Linked DNA regions of Homo sapiens: region 2 is linked to region 1. The links are contacts of gene promoters, found by promoter capture Hi-C in blood cells and fetal thymus (Javierre and others, 2016). All regions are on one chromosome and are shown on one strand. Each heading gives the region's core, a stretch centred on a gene start or on the middle of the fragment in contact. The rest is flanking DNA. Distances are from core to core; before and after follow the strand shown. Region 1 holds the start of GLRX3 (glutaredoxin 3). Region 2 overlaps EBF3 (EBF transcription factor 3).

Region 1 (3,099 bases), core at 386-2,885:
GGTAGCTCACACCTGTAATCCCAACCCTTTGGGAGGCTGAGGAGGGCAGATCGCTCGAGTCCAGAAGGTCGAGACGAGGCTGGGCAACATGGCGAGACCTCGTCTCTATAAAAAAAAATAAAAATTAGACGGGCGTGGTGGTGAGCACCTGTGGTCCCAGCTACTCGGGAGGATGAGGTGGGTCGATCACTTGAGCCTGGGAGGCGGAGGCTGCAGGGAGCCGTGATCGCTCCACTACACTGCAGCCTGGGTGACAGAGCCAGACCCTGTCTCAAAAACAAAACAAAACAAAGCTTTTTGCCTGTGAATTCCATGAACCATTCTACTTCCTACTGAAATACTAAGTGCCAACATCTACTGAGTGCTTCCTGCATACTAGGCATTGTATTATTTGTATTTTACATACGTCATCTCATTTAACCCTCACAACAACCCTGAGGTACTAACAGGTGCTAATCTATGTCACCGTCGGGAAACTGAGGCTTGGGCATGAAACGTGCCCAGGGGTTACATGGCTACTGAGTGGCTGCGGTGGGACTGGATCCCAGGCAATCCGACATAAGAGTTCCCATAACAACCGCTAATAATACAACTAAGAGAACAACTCAGTCCTTGGAGTAGTCTACAATGTGAGGTGGTATTATCACGGAGAGTCCACGTGCAGACCTTTCCCTGCAGGCACGCACGCTAGTAAGCATTTACTCGTAAGCATGCTTGCAGTTCAGAGCTTCTAGTCCACCCAGAAAACGCTTTCTATGCATTCCTCTGGATCTCCTTTTGTAGTCTTCCCAGGGATTGAAGACCTGGACACCGGCGCCAAATCTGAACAGACTCTCACTACACCAGTTCATGGAACAGGAAATCTCTGTCTCCGGCAACAGGTTAAGTCTGAAGACTGAGGCTACCTGCTGTCCAACAAACTTTAAAGGCTGACTTCAAAAGGCAGCCAGGCCTAGCTAATGCAACGGGGCCTTCCCTCGCCGCTCTTCCTGCGACAGGGGCGTTCCTGAAGGGAGGCTGAAGAGCAATGGGCCGACGCCGAGCCTGCCGCTCCCTCCCGGCGGGCACAGGAAAGGTGGAGCCCGCAGCCGTGGGTCCCGCTCCGTGGCGCGGAGGGCCGGGGTCTCGGCGCCGCCCCGTCCCCCGCCCCGCCACTGCGGCACGGCTGAGTCACCACCGCCTCCGTCCCGCGGCGGGGCCGCCCAGGCCAGAGGCCGGGAAGGTCGCGTCCCCCGGGCTTGGACAGCCGTCGGGGTCGGAGCCAGGGCTGGGGCCGGGGCTTCCAGGCGAGCCTCGCGCCCTGCTCGCTGTTCCGGGGCGGGGAACCTGCGGCTCGGGCCACTCACGCGGAGGCTCGGGGGAGTCTACGGGTGGCGCCGGGCCCGGTCCCCCGAGGCCGAAGGGAGCCGGGCACCAAGAAGCCAGGCTGGGCCACCCGCCGCCCCACACCGGCCCGGTCTCGCGGCCGCTCCCGCTCCGGCTCCTCACTCCTACCGCTCGCCGCCCCGCTTACTTGGCTTTGAGGCGCAGCAGCTCCTCAAACTGCCCGGCTGAGCCGACCTCCTCCACGGCCGCTACAGCTGCCTCAGCCGCCCCCGCCGCCATGCTGCCGCCGCCAGACAGAAGCAATCCAGTGCCGGCGGCCGGATGTGGGCGGGGCCACGGGGAGCTGAGCGGCTGCGCGAGGGAAAGCCCCGCCCCTGCCTGCGCTGAGGCTGCCGAGCCTGAGAAATCCCAAAAGGGGCCTCGGCGGCGGGCTCTGGATCCCGCTGGGGGGCTCTGACCCTGCCAAGTCTGGGCACTCCGCTGCGGGCCTCCTGGCTCCCGGGGTTCATGGCTGTTATGGTTCCTGGCTGTCGGGGCTCCTGGCTTTCGGGGCTCCCTGGCTGAAGGGGCTCCTGGCTGTAGGGGCTCCTGGCTATGGAGGTTCCCGGTTATAAGGGCTTCTGGATGTAGTGGATTCTGGCCGTCGAGGTCCCTGGCTGTCGGGGCTCCTGGCCGTAATGGCCCCTGGCTGTCGGGACCCCTGGGTGTCGGGGTTCCTGGCTGTCGGGACCCCTGGGTGTCGGGGTTCCTGACTGTAGGGGCTCCTGGGTGTTAGGGTTCCTGGCTATAGCAGGGGCTCCTGGGTGTCGGGGTTCCTTGCTGTCAGGGCTCCTGGTGGTAGAGGCTTCTTGCTGTTGGCTTCCTGGCTGTCGGGGTGACTGGGTGTCAGGGCTCCTGGTGTTAGGGTTCCTGGCTTCCTGGCTGTAGTAGGGGCTCCTGGGTGTCGGGGTTCCTTGCTGTCAGGGCTCCTGGTGGTAGAGGCTTCTGGCTGTTGGGGTTCCTGGGTGCCAGGGCTCCTGGGTGTCAGGGTTCCTGGCTGTCAGGACACCTGACTCCTGAGGCTCCTGGCTTTTGGGGCTCCAGACCTTCCTTGCACTTCCTGTGTCTCCTGGGTCTGTAATAGAAGGGGCCGGTGGAGGGGTGGGGGTGAGACATGTGAGTGAAAGTGAAGTCAGATGTGTACATTTAGGAAGCTGAAATTATCAAAAATGAAATTGCATAAAGGTGAGGAAGAACTGGGAGGTCTGGGAACAGAAGTGGTAGATCTTGAACTTCAACACAGACAGGGTGCTTCCAATTCAGTCCTGGGACCTGAACCCGGAGCCCACAGCATGTCCCTCCTCCCCTGGCCCTCCGCGCGTGCCGCCACTCATTGCAGCCCCACAGAGCCATCACCCATTGTAACCTCAGAACAGAAGGGGCTGGGTGGGTCCACAGATCCCTGCACTCCTCCCGTCTTGCCTCCTTGGATGATCCCTGGCTTGTCTTTCTCCCTTGGGAATCCCCCTGATGTTGGCTCTCCATGTGGTGTACTCTGTACCCCACACCCCATGCTTCCCACACACCTTCTGGCCTGAGTAATCTCCATGCCCCCAGTGACATCAACCTCCAGGGAAACCTCAATAGCAAGCCCAGAACCCTCCCCTGCATCCCAGAGCCTAGCATCCACTAACTTTGAGGAGGGGCCATCTTTTATTGGATATCCCCAAACCACACTGGGCCTTCCCTCCAAAGTGCCTCTCCTCTTGGTTCCCATCTCAGGGAACACCATCG
Region 2 (3,302 bases), core at 786-3,285, 260 kb after region 1:
CCTTGTTAGGCCCTTTCTGATGCAGTTCAAATGCAGTGTGGCCGCAGGTGCGCCTCATTTACCTCGCTGCGGAACGTGTGGAGTTTAATTGCACAGTGGTTGTTAGGAAAAATTGGTGGGTGGAATATCAAGTGACTTACTGTATGCTGATGGCAGATGGTGTGAAGAGGCATTGTGAGCTAAGTGTATAGGTGAGGTGAGTTAATAAAAGATGTAAATTCTGGCCTAAAATGGTGAGGCCTCATGGTATGCAGGAAAATTTAATTAAGTGGCCACCACTCTTTCCCCCATCAATTGGATTTTCTTCTGCCACAGTAAGAAGTCATCCAGGATATGCTGGGGGGGCACTTAGATGAGTCTTGGTCCGTTGAGTGTTTTCATTTTCTGATATTCTAATTGCCAGCGAGGAACCTTGAACGTAAGAAAATCATGTGAAACTTCATCAAAAATTAATAATCACCAAGTAGGACAGATGATATTTTGGGAGGAAGTAGAGAAAGGTTTGTGTTGATGACCTTGCTGGACAGGATGCTTGGCCACGTGCAGAGAGTGGGTGTTTCAGCACAGACCCAAGCTCTGGGACCTCTTGGTTGTGGCCTTTTCAAGTTGAGGCAGAGGTTATACAGGGAGAAACCCCCCCACCCACTTTTCCTGTGGGTAGTGGTAGAGCCTGGCTTCCCAGGTTCTTTGAGTTCAGACTGGAAGCCAGCTCTCCTGCAATGTCACTGAGCATGCAGGAATGCGGAGGACAACATGATGACGTTTTAGTCACAGCATCTCAACACACTGTCAGGACCCCTGAATCTTCATGCCATGAAACATAAGGGCAAGGCATGGCGGGAAATGGAAATAGCACTCGCTTCGGCCTCACCTCCCCAGCCCTGCAGAGTGCTGTTCCTTGCTTTCTGCCTCAGCAACAGTTTCATTACCGCCTCAAGAATTCTTGGTTAAAACAATATGCCTCCCAATCAGTTCTTAGATTTTTTTTTTTTTTTTTTTTTTTGAGACCGATTTTCACTGTGTTGCCCAGGCTGGAGTGCAGTGGTGCAATCTCCGCTCACTGCAACCTCCACCTCCTGGGTTCAAGTGATTCTCCTGCCCCACCCCCCAATTGCTTTTTAAGAGCTGTACCTACTGTAACTCTTTTTTTTTTTTTTTTTTTTTTGAGACAGAGCCTTGAGCTGTCAACCAGGCTGGAGTGCACTGGCACGATCTCGGCTCACTGAACCTCCTGGGTTCAAGCGATTCTCCTGCCTCAGCCTCCCGAGTAGCTGGGATTATAGGCACATGCCACCGCACCTGGCTGATTTTTGTATTTTTAGTAGAGATGGGGTTTCACCATGTTGGCCAGGCTTGTCTCGAACTCCTGACCTCAAGTCATCTGCCCACCTCAGCCTCCCAAAGTGCTGGGATTACAGGCGCTACTGTAACTCTTAAAACCCATATTTAAAAGTGTGTTTGCTTAGGCAGTGGTAGCCTCTGGAATTAGGGTTGCCAGATAAGATATGGCACATCCAGTGAAATTTCCATTTCAGGTCAACAGCAATTTTTTAGTGAGGAGTATGCTTTGGGACATTATTTTTTGTTTATCCAAAATTCAAATTTAACTAGGCATCCTTCATTTTTAGTGGGTTGAGATGGTAGGCCTGTCTGGGCTGAATGTTTCCCCCATGGTTAATGGGCAGTTGTGCAAAGATTGAGCCAAGAAATGCCAATGCGAAAGTCGCAGCTATTATCATAAAGCTTGGACACCCACAGCGTCAAGGCAAATGCAACTCACTGCTCTCCTGTGTGGCTATTTCTGGGTGCCTCCTCGCCGCCTCTCCCAGAGCCTCTTCTCAATGTCGCCCCCTAGAGGGAAGTGTGGAAGCTGTGGGGTTGAGTCTCCACTCCTCCCTGCGCAAGAGTGTCTTTTAAAAAGTTTGAGTCTTTTGTCTGATAACCCTAATAAATATCATCTTTTTGTATTTTTTATAGATTCTTTCTAAAGTTTTTCCTCAAGTGCAATCAGAACTGTTTGAAGAATGCAGGCAACCCTCGAGATATGCGGAGATTCCAGGTATACATTTCTCAAAGACACGTGGACCGTGGTCCTGACTTTTCATACCAAATTTGAATTCTCTGATTTGCAACTGTTCAGGAAGTAATCTTGAGTTCTTTAAGGGCTTGGAAGCAAACTGGAATTGGTGCATTTGATAAAAATATGCAAATAAAATGCTTTAAGAATGATCTGGTATATTCAGTATGCCAGATTCATCAAGTCTAATGTGGGCACAATATAGCGAACAGCGAACTTAGCTTTGAAAACATGGCCATGTGGAAGCTTTTTTTTTTTTTTTTTTTTTGGAGACAGAGTCTTGCTCTGTATCCCAGGCTAGAGTGCAGTGGTGCGATCTTGGCTCACTACAACCTCCGCCTCCCAGGTTCAAGGGATTCTCCTGCCTCAGCCTCCTGAGTAGCTGGGATTACAGGCGCACACCACCACACCCAGTATTTTTAGTAGAGATGGGGTTTCAATATGTTTTCCAGGCTGGTCTCAAGCTCCTGACCTCAAGTAATCCGCCTGCCTTGGCCTCTGAAAGTGCTGGGATTACAGGCGTGAGCCACCGTGCCCAGCCCAGAAGTGCTTCTTTTGGGATTGATTGAGGGATTGATTTTCAGTGGGAGGAGAACTATAATGCAACCTTTTGGGAATACTCCAGATCTGAGATCCTCCTCATAGAGGGATCTGCACCTGCTTAGTACAGACCTCTGCAACTGCCAGAGTCTCTTCCTGGCCTCGGCTTCCTTCCCCCGAGGTTTACTGTGTTCTTATTGCCCACTTTCCATGCTAGTTGCATCTGTTCCTAAACTCAGGCTAAGTCCTGTCTCTGGTTTGCCTCAGAAGATTTTATCCAAAAGACGGATACAGAGGGGTAGCTGGGTGGGGGGGGGGGGGGGGTTCAGGGATGAATTATGATAGATTTATGTACCATTATGATAGATTCATATTTTTCTTGCCTTTTTTGTGAATGATTAGGAAGCTAATTCAGGGTAAACACATTGGATGATTTTGCTAATTTTAATTGTAAAAATAGTCTGGGCTAGAATACAAAACCAGCCAGAGAAGAATTTGGCGGCTAATGGAAATGACCACTAGCTTGGATGAATGACCCAAGAGCAGAATGATTCCTGTTTGGGATTTACCCAGTTTTTCCATCAAATAGCTCAAAGCATTTCTCAGAAATTTAACTTATGCCTCAGTCCTTTAGTGAATCACGTGACATCTGTCTCCATGCCTGCCCGGTCAGCTGGTCAGAGGA

The links. The method cuts DNA at HindIII sites, captures the fragments that hold promoters and counts their contacts. A CHiCAGO score of 5 or more calls a contact.
Region 2: a contact is called between a fragment that was not itself captured here and the fragment with the promoter of GLRX3 in region 1, in 5 of 17 cell types (activated CD4 T cells, naive CD8 T cells, total CD8 T cells and 2 more). The highest score is 8.4, in activated CD4 T cells.

Annotation. Positions count from the first base shown.
Region 1 is chr10:130,134,927-130,138,025 of GRCh38, reverse strand. GLRX3 (glutaredoxin 3) reads right to left here and starts at 1,635. Exons shown (of 11, transcript NM_006541.5): 1 at 1,514-1,635. The coding sequence starts at 1,605. LOC105378561 (a long non-coding RNA gene) reads left to right here and starts at 1,655. Exons shown (of 6, transcript XR_001747659.2): 1 at 1,655-3,099. RefSeq lists enhancers at 1-525, 804-853 and a silencer at 1,054-1,653. The HindIII fragment of the contact is 5,217 bases long and covers 296-3,099 here.
Region 2 is chr10:129,876,525-129,879,826 of GRCh38, reverse strand. It overlaps EBF3 (EBF transcription factor 3), which reads left to right. Exons shown (of 17, transcript NM_001375380.1): 7 at 1,978-2,059. Among named protein-coding and RNA genes, the nearest start is that of EBF3-AS1, 21 kb to the right of the region's middle. The HindIII fragment of the contact is 580 bases long and covers 1,746-2,325 here.